Linked DNA regions of Homo sapiens: region 2 is linked to region 1. The links are contacts of gene promoters, found by promoter capture Hi-C in blood cells and fetal thymus (Javierre and others, 2016). All regions are on one chromosome and are shown on one strand. The core of a region is centred on a gene start or on the middle of the fragment in contact, and the rest is flanking DNA. Distances in the headings are between cores, read along the strand shown.

The links. The method cuts DNA at HindIII sites, captures the fragments that hold promoters and counts their contacts. A CHiCAGO score of 5 or more calls a contact.
Region 2: the fragment with the promoter of POLR3A here is called in contact with the fragment with the promoter of BCCIP in region 1 in 1 of 17 cell types (naive CD8 T cells); the score reaches 7.6 in naive CD8 T cells.

What each region holds. Positions count from the first base shown.
Region 1 is chr10:125,820,122-125,826,555 of GRCh38, forward strand. BCCIP (BRCA2 and CDKN1A interacting protein) reads left to right here and starts at 3,425. Exons shown (of 7, transcript NM_078468.3): 1 at 3,425-3,601. The coding sequence starts at 3,437. It overlaps UROS (uroporphyrinogen III synthase), which reads right to left and starts at 3,137. Exons shown (of 10, transcript NM_000375.3): 1 at 2,908-3,137. RefSeq lists silencers at 2,784-3,213, 3,970-4,189 and enhancers at 3,065-3,750, 3,294-3,493. The HindIII fragment of the contact is 3,281 bases long and covers 3,209-6,434 here.
Region 2 is chr10:78,026,463-78,032,896 of GRCh38, forward strand. POLR3A (RNA polymerase III subunit A) reads right to left here and starts at 3,053. Exons shown (of 31, transcript NM_007055.4): 1 at 2,902-3,053. The coding sequence starts at 2,945. RefSeq lists an enhancer at 2,973-3,222. The HindIII fragment of the contact is 13,008 bases long and covers 766-6,434 here.

The DNA.
Region 1 (6,434 bases), core at 2,175-4,674:
GGTGTATTAGAGTTCTTCAGAGAAACAGAACCAATGGCATATATTTACATCTAGAAAGGGATTTGTTATAAGGTATTAGCTCATGCAGTTATGGAGGCTGAGAAGTCCCATGATCTGCTGTCTGCAAGCTGGAGACTTGTTAGCAGGAAGGCTGGTGTTGTAGCCTGAAGGCCTGAGAGCCAAGGGTGTAGGTTCCAGCCTGAGTGTGAAGGCCTCAGCACCAGGAGCACCAAGGGCAGAAGATATCCCAGATCAAGCATGCAGGAGGAGACAGGACACATTCTTCCTTCTTTGGCTTTTTGTTCTATTTAGGCCCTCAACAGACTGGATGCTGCCCACCTACTTTGGGGAGGGCAATCCACTTTACTCAGTCTATCCATTCAAATGCTCATCTTTTCTGAAAACAACTTCACAGACACACCAAGAAATAATGTTTAACCAGATATCTGGGCATCCGTGATCCAGTCAAGATGACATGTAAAAGTAACTATCACACTGGGCTAAGCATTTTACATGCAAGACTGCAATCCTCACTTAAACCTGCAAGGTAGGTGGTGTTAGCCTTATTTGCAGGAGGTGAAACCAAGTCCCTGGGAGGTTTGAGTAACTTGTCCCAGGTCACACAGCACAGTAAGTGGGAGAGATGGAATTTGGATCCTGGTCTGAAGCCCATGCTCAGTCTCCTAACCACTTGCTACCATCCCTCTGCCTCATTAAGATAAATTCTGAGCTAAAGATGAACACTGAACGAGTGGTAAGCAATCTACTACCTGCTGAGTTCAGTTCCCTAGGGTCAGTACTGTATTTACTTTCACATTCACTATTCTAATTCACACTTTGACCATGAGCTCAACACTGGGAACTAATCTGAGGGCATAAAGTAAGGCTTTTTCCCCTACTTGTCTTACAAAAGTGATCCTGTTTACTGTGAAAGATTTGCAAACTACAAAAAAGTATAGTTCCTCAAAAAAATAAACATAGAATTACCATATGATCTAGCAATTCCCCTGCTACATATATACCCCAAAGAATTGAAAGCAGGGACTCGAACAGATATTTGATACTCATGTTCATAGCAACATTATTTACAACAGCTAAAATGTAGAAGTAACCAAAATGTTTACCGACAGATAAGTAGATAAACAAAATGTGGTCTATACATGCAATGGAGTATTATTCAGCCTTAACAAGGAAGGAAATCCTAATGCATGCTACAGCATGGGATAAACTTTGAAGACATCATGCTGAATGAAATAGTCACAAAAGGAAGAATATTGTGTTACTCCACTTACATGAGGTTTCTAGAATAGTCAAATTAATAAAGATGGAAAGTAGAAAGGTCATGGAGGGAAAATAAGGGAGTTGTTTAACTACAGTTTCAATTTTGCTAGATGAAAAGAGTTCTGCCAATGGATAGTGGTGGTGATGGTTGCACAATGTGAATGCACTTCATGCCACTGAACTGTATCTTTAAAAATAGTTAAGATGGTAAAATGTATGTTATGTATCTTTTACCACCATAAAAAAAGTATAAAGAAACAGGAAAAAAAATTGGCTATGGTATCTCAGTGCAACTCTGTTGATATGTTCACATGGTCTTTCTGAGTCTTTTTTCTAATCTTAGCCTTTTGATGGGTCTTTTTTGACAGCTTCCTCTCTTCTCCATTACAGGAACATGTTTTTGCAGTTGTGCGACCCAAAGAGGCCATTTCAAGCTGCCCCATCAGATGTGGAGCGCTGATGTGTAAGTATTACTTTAATATCCATGACATGGCTGGGTAGACAAGAGACTCCCAGGAAAGACCGAAATCACAGAACACGATTATGGGCAATCTGGGCTCCTGGGGACCTTTAGGGCACGCCATCTCGTACTGATGAAGGATCACTGATTTATCAGATGTTACCCTGCTTAAACAGAAGCAGCCTATTAGCGCAGCTCACACCATTCCTAGAATCAAACATATCCAACCCACCCCCCTCATTTTACAGAGAAAAATCAATTGAGAACCGCAGATCTTATTCCTAGAAAGCTGATGAACCCTGTTTCTCTCGCAATGGGAAGACCTGGCTGCCCCAGGCTGCATCCCCACCTGCCACAGGGGCTGGCGCTCGCTCTGCAGTTGGCCGCAGTCCCCTCCACTCTTCTCTCCAAATAGGCTCGGGTCTTTAACCTAGACTACCCCACTGGCCCCGAAGCATTTTTTTTTTTTTTTAGATAGGGTCTACCTCTGTCGCCCAGGCTGGAGTGTGGAGTGCGGTGGCGCGATCTCGGCTCACTGCAACCTCCGTCTCCTGGGGGCATGCGATTCTCCTGCCTTAGCCTCCTGAGTAGCTGGGACTACAGGCGCGCACCACCACACCTGGCTAGTTTTTGTATTTTTAGTAGAGATGGGATTTCGCCATGTTGGGCAGGCTGGTCTCGAACTCCTGACCTCAAGTGATCCACCCATCTCGGCCTCCCAAAGTGCTGGGATTACAGGTGTCCGCCACCACGCCCGGCTAATTTTTGTACTTTTAGCAGAGATGAGGTTTTGCCATGTTGGCCAGGCTGGTCTCGAACTCCTGACCTCTGGTGATCCACCCGCTTTGACCTCCCTAAGTGCTGGGATTACAGGCGCGAGACACCGGGCCCGGCCCCCCGCCGAAGCATTTTTAACTGCGGTGCCGGCTTTAAAAAAACTTTTAGGTCAAGAAATGCGCTCCAGAAGCTCGGCGAGGGTAGGCTGGGCAGGCGCCTTCCGTCACCGGCGCAGCGGTAGCGGCAGCGGACATCCCCGCCTGGGCAGGCCCAGGTCCGCGGAAGCCTCGGGGCCCTGGCCCCACTGTGTCACACACCGCCCGGGGCCGGGCCCCTGCACGCCCGCGGGCTTCGGCGTCCGTACCGGTACAGCGGGCGGCGACACCTACCTCGCGGGACCGTGCCCAGCACCCGGCCTGGCACACAGCGGGCACCCGGTCGGGGGGCGGTGTCGCGCAGTCCCAGCGAAAAGGCTGCAGGAGCAATGACAACAGGGGCGGAAGCCCCCTCCCCACGCAGCCCGAGGGGCCGCGGCGGCCACCCGCGCCGGGCCCCAGGACCCCGCACCTCAGACTGGGGTCGCGTGGGTGGCTGCGCGCAGCTAGGCGCTCGCGCATGCGCACCGCCATCCAGGCCACGGAATGAGGCCAGAGGTTAGATGGGTTGAACCACTACGGGAAGGGGAGGGGAAGCTTTGGGAGGAGTGATGGAGGGTGGAAAGCGGAAGAAAAAAGCAAGATGGGACCGCAAGCTGGACGTGACTGTAAGGGGTCATGGCTGCGGAATCCAGCAGGGGCATTGGGGTTGACGTGCACTCAGCGCCGAGCTTCTTCGTAGTTCCTCACCCCCTTGGCTACTATGGGCTGGTCCGGAAGGTCAGGCAAGGGGAAGCTGCGCAGGCGCAGTGTGAGCGGCAACATGGCGTCCAGGTCTAAGCGGCGTGCCGTGGAAAGTGGGGTTCCGCAGCCGCCGGATCCCCCAGTCCAGCGCGACGAGGAAGAGGAAAAAGAAGTCGAAAATGAGGATGAAGACGATGATGACAGTGACAAGGAAAAGGATGAAGAGGACGAGGTCATTGACGAGGTGAGAAGGACACGCTCCCCTAGTTGGTTTATACCTGAGAAAAACTTTTTGGCAAGCCCAGGCTGTGTAAAAATAGTGTAGGGTCTTCCCTGACCCTGAGGGTCTGTGAGGAGAAACTGGAGATAAGTTCTTTCTCAGGTTTCTCCTCGGTCTTTAACACACTGCAGCCATAGTAGTTATTTTTTAAAGGTCTAGTCCGGTCCAGTTAATCTCCCAACCCGCGTCCTCCCCGAAAAAGCCCGCCACAACAGGTGTGTTCTTCTCGTCCTCTTTAGTTCTCAGGCTGAAGCCTCAGATCCTGAATCGGCCACCCCGGGCTCGCAGAGGGGGCCCTCTCCCCTCGGGGCAGCAGCTGTCCTCCTCTTCACTCTGCGGGCGGCACTCACTTGGGCCCTCAGTTTCTTGAAGGCTCTTGCCGCGTTCTACCGTAGAAGCCTTTTCAAATGCTCTTCTTTATCCTGCAGTTTTCCCTTCCTTCTTCAGATCTCAGCTAGGCTGTATTTTCTGGCTCCTGGGGCAGCTGACCAAGTCGTGGGTAAATCTTTGGTTTCATAGTCTCATAGAACTGTGTTCCTTTCTTCAGACTAGGTCCTACCGTAGTGCCTGGCAATATAGGTACTTATTATTTGTTTAGTAAACAATTAGGACTGAATGATCCTTCAGCCTACTGAATGTTTAAATAGATACCTCAGCCTTAACTTGTCCAAAGCAGAATTTGTATAATAATTCATGCCCCTCTCTTAATCGTCACCATTTCTATAAATGGCCCCTAAAGTCACCAGCTGCTCTAACCCAAAACCTGGGGCTTAACTTTAATTCCTCCCTTTCCTCATCCTATATCCAGCCCATCAGTAAATCCTGTTATCCAGACATTTCTCAGCACTAATTCTGAGACCATCGTAGTCCACACCTCTATCATCTCTTGCCTGGACTACTATTTAATGTAACAGCTTTTAACCGGCGTTCTTTTCTCCATTTTTGTTCCCCTACAATCAGTCTATACTCCACTTACAGTCAGAGAGATCTTATAGGTCTGATCTCAGGCCTCTGCTTAGATTGCTGCATTGGCTTTCTAGTTCATTTACAAGAAAATCAAGAGTCTTCACAATTGAGGGACGGAAAGGCAGCCTAGATGGCTGGATCAGAATAAGGAAGAGAGAGTGATAGGAAATAAAATCAGAGAGGTAATCATGAGTCATGATGAGCATGGAGGGGAGCATGGAGAGAAGCATGGATGCAGGATTAGAGGTGACACCATGGTGTGGGTATGTGATCAATCTTCCTTCCCTTACAAATTTTACTTTGGCTCTATGCCTTGAATGCCATCTCACCATTTTTCACTTAGAACTTTGACTGGCTCTTTTATTACTTTTGGGTTATAGAAATCAATGCTGCTTGTGTTAACATGGGAAATCTATCACACCACCACAGTCTTAATTCTAAATCACCTGGGAATGAGGGACAGGGCTCTTTTCTACAAACGTGACTGTTCCTGCTGAAGCCATGTGGAGATGAGCCCATACCCAGGAAAAGGGTGCTGGACAGATAATCCATTTGCCGCCCATTTCCCTGGTGGTGCCATAATAGTCTGGGACAGAGGTCCGAGATGTCTGTCTAGACAAAGAAAAAAACACTAGATGAGCATTATTTACAGAATGTATTTATATCTAAGGAATAAGTTTAAGTCCTGAATAATGACAGTTTGTTATTTGGTTTAGTTTGATCCTGTTTGGAACACTCCCACCCGACCCCTTGTGTTTTGCTGCTCACATAATCTGGCTAAGTTAGCATTTGAAGTCTGCAAAGCTGGACTTAAAGAGTTCAAATTGGAGCTGGAATTGCTCTAAGCAATTCCAGGGCCTTGCAATTTTACAATTAAGGAAGACTTAAATATATACATAGTCAGGGTGGCAAGGTAAAAGGAGGTCTGATTTCCTCTGCGATGTTCTTCAGCTAAGACCTAAATTCTGAAACCGTTAAAACCTGAAGTGCCTTTAAATATATTATTTCATCAGAGCCCCAGGTTCATTGTGTCACTTATCAAGGTCTGATTTAGGGTCCTCAAGGACTAATCTTGTTAGTGTTTAAAAGCAACTAGGTTTTGTTTTTGGCATTTTAGTTCCATCTTCTAGATTCTGTTGTCTTGCAGATAGAGATCAGGGAGCCCAGCTACACATTCATTCTTCTAGTCCCTTGTACTCATTGTATTTCCTTCTGCCTTAGGGCCTTAGTTTGTGCTGTTCCCTGTACCAGGAACTCTCTTTGCTGTTTCTCGGTTTCTTGCTCAAATGTCACTTCAAGGAAGGCTTTCCTGACTGACTTCTTATTTTTTAAGTTGTTACAACATTGTGTACCTTTGTTTTATAGCACTTACATTTATTTCTATGAATATTTCCTTAATGCCTATATTCCTTCCTAAATCGTAAGCTGCACGAGAGCAGGATCATTTGTGTCTGCCTTACTAACCTTTTCATCTTGAGTGCCTGGCACAGTGCTTGGTACCTGGATTGATACTTAATAAATATTTGCTAAGCAAATGTAGTGTAACCTCAAATCCATGGGCTAAGTCAAGCTCTAGGCAATTCCAGGGACTTTTGAAGTGATTTTGATTTTTGCCCACCCTTGTAATCAGGAAAATAATTTATCCTTTGTGGCTGCCGTGTCTGGTTTATTTGAACTGGACTTTCTCAACATTTAAACTAGGTTACTCTGAGTGTTTTGTTTTCTCAGGCTTTTGTGTCACCTGAAGAAATAGTGTGAAGGTGCTTTGTATTCTTCACAGATGGCAATCTTGGCAATGTTTGCCTGTTTTAAAGTCTAGATGTTTGTAGTT
Region 2 (6,434 bases), core at 1,803-4,302, about 48 Mb before region 1:
TAGACAACCTGCCTGCTGCTGAATCCAATAAGAACTTCCTCATTTTACCTCTGCAGCACTGGCAGCACCCTGCCCAATCCTGAAGTGCTTTTCTCTCGGCTTTGGTGACACCATACACTCTGAGTTTTCTTCTTCCCTTCTCTGGCTGCTCCTTGTACAGTCTCTTTTGAGGTCTTTTCTTCTACTGCTATCCCTTAAATATTGGTGCACTGTACCACCTAGCATTACAACCTTCATCCTCTTATCTTCTCATCCTACACATTCTCCTGAGTGATCATGCCACTCACATACATGTTGATGTCTATCAAATCTATCTCTATAGGCCAGCTACTGCTACCCAACTGGACATCTGTATAGACACCTCCTCCTGGACAGTTCCACCTAGATATCTCATAGGCACTTCAAACCCCACACATTGAAAACAGACCTCAATACTTTTTCTCCCATGTCTGTCCCTTCATTCATTCTTCCAACAAATTGACTATTTCCTATGTGCCAGGCACCATCCTACAGGCTGAGGATACAGATTAGCTAAGACAGACAAGGTCCTTGCCAACAAAGAGCTCACAGGTCAGGGTGGGAAAGACAGACCACAAACAAACGAATATACAAATGTGAACAGATGCAGAAGTGATGTAAGCAGTGGAGTCTGAGGAATTACTTTACGTTGCATGGTCAGAAAGCCTCACTGTAAAACTGACAATCAGAAGGAAGAGCATCTGAAGTGGAGAGAATGACTAGGGCCAGGGTCCTGGGACTGGCACAAGCTTGGCATTTTCAAGGAACCAAATGAAATCAGTATATACTGGAGCATAGAAAGCTAATAGTACAAGATAAAGTCAGTGAAGCATGCAGGAGCTAAAGCATGAGGGCTTGGGAACTTTGGTAGGGAATTTATTTAAATAACATAAATGCAGCCGGGTGCGGTGGCTCATGCCTGTAATCCCAGCACTTTGGGAGGCCAAGGTGGGTGGATCACGAGGCAAGGAGATTGAGACCATCCTGGCTAACATGGTGAAACCCTGTCTCTACTAAAAATACAAAAAATTTGCTAGGCGTGATGGCCCACACAATGGAAAGCTGCTAGAGGATTTTTTTTTTTCCCTGAGACAGAGTCTTGCTCTGTCACCCAGGCTGGAGTGCAGTGGTGCGATCTCAGCTCACTGCAACCTCTGCCTCCTGGGTTCAAGCGATTCTCCTGCCTCAGACTCCCAAGTAGCTGGGGTTACAGGCATACAGGCATGCGCCACCGCACCCAGCTAATTTTTGTATTTTTAGTAGAGATGAGGTTTTACCATATTGGCCAGTCTGGTCTTGAACTTCTGACCTCATGATCTGCCTGCCATGGCCTCCCAAAGTGCTGGGATTACAGACGTGAGCCACCACTCCTGGCCTCTGCTAGAGGATTTTAATTGACAATACCCTTAATTTGCACTTTGACAGAAGCACTTTCTCTGTTTTGTGAGAATGTATTATATCTGACTGGGCGCAGGTGTACAGGTGGGTGTGAAGGGCCAGTGTCGATGTAGAGCTACCACATGGGAGAATGCTGCATTCACCTAGGTAAGACACCTGTTCTAGTGAATGGCAACCATCCACACAGCTGCCCAAGCAAGGCATTCTGTATATCCGTCTCAAGGTCTCTCGACCTCTAATTCTTTCCACCATGAATCAAGAGATTTTCCAGAAGGAGAACTCTTATCAAGATACTCTCCTGTTGAAAATCCTTCAAAGGTTCCTCACTGCCTACAAGATGACTTCTTAACACAGCTTCAAGTCTTCTGCTTCCTTCTGATCACCTGTGTTCTCTCCCTCAGGTCTGCTCCTTGAAAAAAGCAGTTTGGTCTGCTTTCTTTTGCCTGGACCCATTATGTGCTCTCAAAACCCCCTGGACCTACCCTTGTCATTGCACTTGTCGTACCCAGTGTTGACTTGTGTACCTTCTCCAACTAGATTAGGCAGTAAAAGTTTTATTCAGACCGTATCTTTAACGTCCAACACTGGGAATAACGCGCAGTATCCTCCTCAGTGTCTGCTGTAAGAATGATGAATTCACTTTTTTTTTTGAGACACCGTCTCACTCTGTCACTCAGGGTGGAATGCAGGAGGTTGCCCACTGCAACCTCTGCCTCCCAGGCTCAAGTGATTTTTCGGCCTCAGCCTCCCGAGTAGCTGGGACCACAAGGGCGCGCCACCACGCCTGCTAATTTTTGTATTTTTGATAGAGACGGGGTTTCGCCACGTTGCCCAGGCTAGTCTCAAACTCCTGAGCTCAGGAGATTCACCCGCTTCGGCCTCCTAAAGTGCTGGGATTACAGGAGTAAGCCACCGCGCCCGGCTGGATTCACTTTCTTACCGAGAACTCTAAGAAGGAGCCACCGCCTAATAACGTATTTCTGAAGGCAAAAGTCCGGATAGCAGCTTTATTTCTGACACTGCCATCCGTCGGCCTGTGGTACAGCTTTCTAGTGGGCAACCCCATCCTTTTGGTAAGCAACTACTGCCTCCGTGTCAGACGCTCTGCGGCTGACAGAATTAGAGACAGTCCCCGCCCCAGATTGCTCCCCTCGCTGCAGCAGGGGATAGTTCGCTGAAGAACAGGGATCATTGTATGACTTCAGGAGAATGCGAGCTTTGGCCCAGGGTGCACAAATCATTAAGGCTCAGGCCACTCCGACTTCTCCGCCCAAGTCCAGGGACCTCTCGAGGTGCTGAAATCCCCTCAGCCTGACCAATGCTCTTTGACCAACGCTGGTAGTTCTGGGCGCTGGTCACACCTATGGACTACTGGCCCTCCCCTTCCCATTGCACCCCATCTCTGACCCTGCAAGACCCGGGACCGCTGACCTCGGACCCCTTGCCCTATTTCTCAGCCCTTTGGCCACTCTTACTCCGTCTTACATTTTCTTGGCCACATCCGTCTCCCGGAACTGCTCCTTCACCATGATGACCGCTGCCGGGACGCCTCCTTGGCACTCGGGAGGCCAGATTAGAGAAACGATGCCCCCAGCACCTCCTGGGGCTGCTTCTGGACTCGCCGCTAACACATCTGCGGCATCCTCTCGGCCACCGTAGAGTGTCCCACGTGTCCGCTTCCTCTTCCGCTACTCGCCCGCGCGTCTGTCTGTCAAGAGAGACTTCCGGCATGCCTTTTTTTTTTTTTTTTTTCCCTTTCCCCGCACCGTCACCTGGTGGCGCTTACTGGAAGCCGCACCGAGGCGTGTGCTGTATTTTAAAAATCCCATTTCTGGTCAATTTCTCCACGTAATCAGACACCCGCAGAGAAACTGCATATAACTCTTTGCCTCAAGGCTTTTAGACAAGCAGAGGGCCAAAACTTGCATAAAATGGAAAATCATCATCATTAACATCAGTACCATCTAAATTAAGAGCTTCTAATTGTTTTAAGGGAAGGTGGAAGCTAAAATGAACCGGCCCATCCAACAGAGGGCACTATCTGTGGAGGACCAACAAAGGAAAACAGAGCGGAAAATATGGGCGCACATGTGCCTCCAGTTCATGAAGTTATTTGGAGGGAGGGGGGAAGAATTAAACTTACATTATTGATTACAAAAACAGTTGAAAATCTGTTAGAGTGAAAACAGCCATGGTAATCTACAGAAGAAAAGGGAGAATGGAAAGTAAAGATCATTCATGTCTTGAAATAAGTTGTCTACAGTCTGTGAGAACTTGTGGGAGGTGATCCTAGTGTGATATATTAGTGCATGAGCCTAGCAAGGAAATCACATCACCACAGGGCTTAGCGCTTAGAATTAGAACTAAGTCCTCATTATTTGTGAGAAACTCAAAACAGAACTTAACAAAAGTGTTTAACAACTTTCAATTTTTAAGAAGGGACGCTATCTCATTTTCAGACGCCATGGATCCTCACTAGCAAAACACAATGTCACAGACAAACGAGGCATATCAGGTTTTTCTAACTCATTTCGGTACTCCATCACTTAATCATGAAATAATGTTGACTATATATATATATATATATATATATATATAGTCAACATTATGGGTTTTTTTTGTTTTTTTTTTTTTTTTTTTTTTGAGACGGAGTCTCGCTCTGTCGCCTAGACTGGAGTGCAGTGGCGAAATCTCGGCTCACCGCAACCTCCGCCTCCCGGGTTCAAGCGATTCTCCTGGCTCAGCCTCCCGAGTAGCTGGGACTACAAGCGCCCGCCACCACGCCCAGCTAATTTTTGTATTTTTAGTAGAGACGGGGTTTTACTATGTTGGCCAGGCTGGTCTCGAATCCCTGACCTCGTGATCCGCCCGCCTCAGTCTCCCAAAGTGATAGGATTACAGGTGTGAGCCACCACACCCGGCTCTGATGTTTACAATATTATACCAACAAGGGTTGGATCGTGTGTGACTTATCTAGAGGTTAAGAGCAAAAGTTATGAAATCACAGTGCCATCATGGGAGTCTAGCTTTCACCATTTAAAGTTGTGTAGGCAGCCAGGCGTGGTGGCTCACGCCTGTAATCCTAGCACTTTGGGAGGCCAAGGTGGGCGGATCACCTGAGGTCAGGAGTTCGGGACCAGCCTGGTCAACATGGTGAAACCCCATCTCTACTAAAAATACAAAAATTAGCTGGGGTTGGTGGTGTGCGCCTGTAATCCCAGGTACTCGGGAGGCTGAGGCAGGAGAATCGCTTGAAGCTGGGAGGTGGAGGTTGCAGTGAGCCGAGACCATGCCATTGCACTGCAGCCTGGGCGACAAGAGTGAAACTCCATCTCAAAAATAAAAAAAAATAAAAAATAAAGTTGTGCAGGCCGGGCGCGGTGGCTCACGCCTGTAATCTCAGCACTTTGGGAGGCCGAGGTGGGCAGATCATGAGGTCAGGAATTTGAGACCAGCCTGACCAATATGGTGAAACTCCGTCTCTACTAAAAAATACAAAAATTAGCCTGGTGTGGTGGCGCATTCCTGTAATTCCAGCAACTCAGGAGGCTAAGGCAGGAGAATCGCTTAAATCCGGGAGGCGGAGGTTGCAGTGAGCCAAGATTGTGCCACTGCACTCCAGCCTGGGCAACAGAGCAAGACTCTGCCTCAAAAAAAAAAAAAAAAAAAATATATATATATATATATATAGATATAGATATAGATATATGTGTATATATACACATACGTGTATATATACACGTATATAAAGTGTGAACTTGGGAAAGTTATTTAATCTTATTGTGTGTTAGTTTCCCCATTTATAACATGGGTGAGTAATATGTATCCTATTTCTTAGAGTCAATGGGAAGGTTAAATAGCAAAATGAAGGTAAAAGTAATTAGAATGTAACAGGCACATTACAATCACTCAATAAATATTCTTCTGCCTCAGCCTCCCGAGTAGCTGGGACTACAGGTGCGCACCACCATGCCTGGCTAATTTTTGTATTTTTAGTAGAGACGGGGTTTCACCATATTGGCTAGGCTGGTCTTGAACTCCTGACCTCGTGATCTGCCTGCCTCGGCCTTCCAGAGTGCTGGGATTACAGGCATGAGCCACCGTGCCCAGCCGGCTGACTATTTTCTTAAGAATAAGGATAGTTGGTCACCTCGGGAGGCTGAGGCAGAAGAATCGCTTGAACTTGGGAGGCGGATGTTGCAGTGACCCGAGATCCCGCCACTGCACTCCAGCCTGGGTGACAGAGCGAGATGCGGTCTCAAAAAAAAAAAAAAAAACAAAAAACGAAAAAAAAGAAAAATAGTCGGCCGGGGACGGTGGCTCACGCCTATAATCCCAGCACTTTGAGAGGCCGAGGCGGGGGCGGATCACTTGCGGTCAGGAGTTGGAGACCAGCCTGGCCAACATGGTGAAACCCCGTCTCTCCTAAAAATACAAAAATTAGCTGGGCATTGTGGCGCAGGCCTGTAATTTTAGTTACTCTGGAAGCTGAGCCAGGAGAATCGCTTGAATCCGGGAGGTCGAGGTTGCAGTGAGCCGCGATGAAGCCATTGCTCTCCAACCTGGGTGACAAGAGCTAGACTCTGTCTCAGGAAAAAAAAAAAAAGAAAATAGGAAAGCTGCCCGCAAAGCCTGCACCTTGGACACCTCGTCTGCACTAACATTTGGGAAATTCTTCTTATTATTTCTCCGGAACATATATATTTACATTCTTTACATGTCTGTTTCACGTTAAAGAAAATATTTCTGGAGCAATCAATTTTTTTTTCCTTTTTTTTTTTTTTTTTCTGAGACGGAGTTTCGCTCTTATTGCCCAGGCGGAGTGCAATGGTGCGATCTCGGCCCACTGCAACCTCCGCCTCCCGGGTTCAAGCGATTCTCCTGTCTCAGCCTCCCAGATAGCTGGGATTAGAGGCATGCACCACCACGCCCGGCCAATTTTTTTTTTTTTGTAGTAGAGACGGGGTTTCGCCATTTTGCCCAGGCTGGTATCGAACTTCTGACCTCAGGTCATCTAC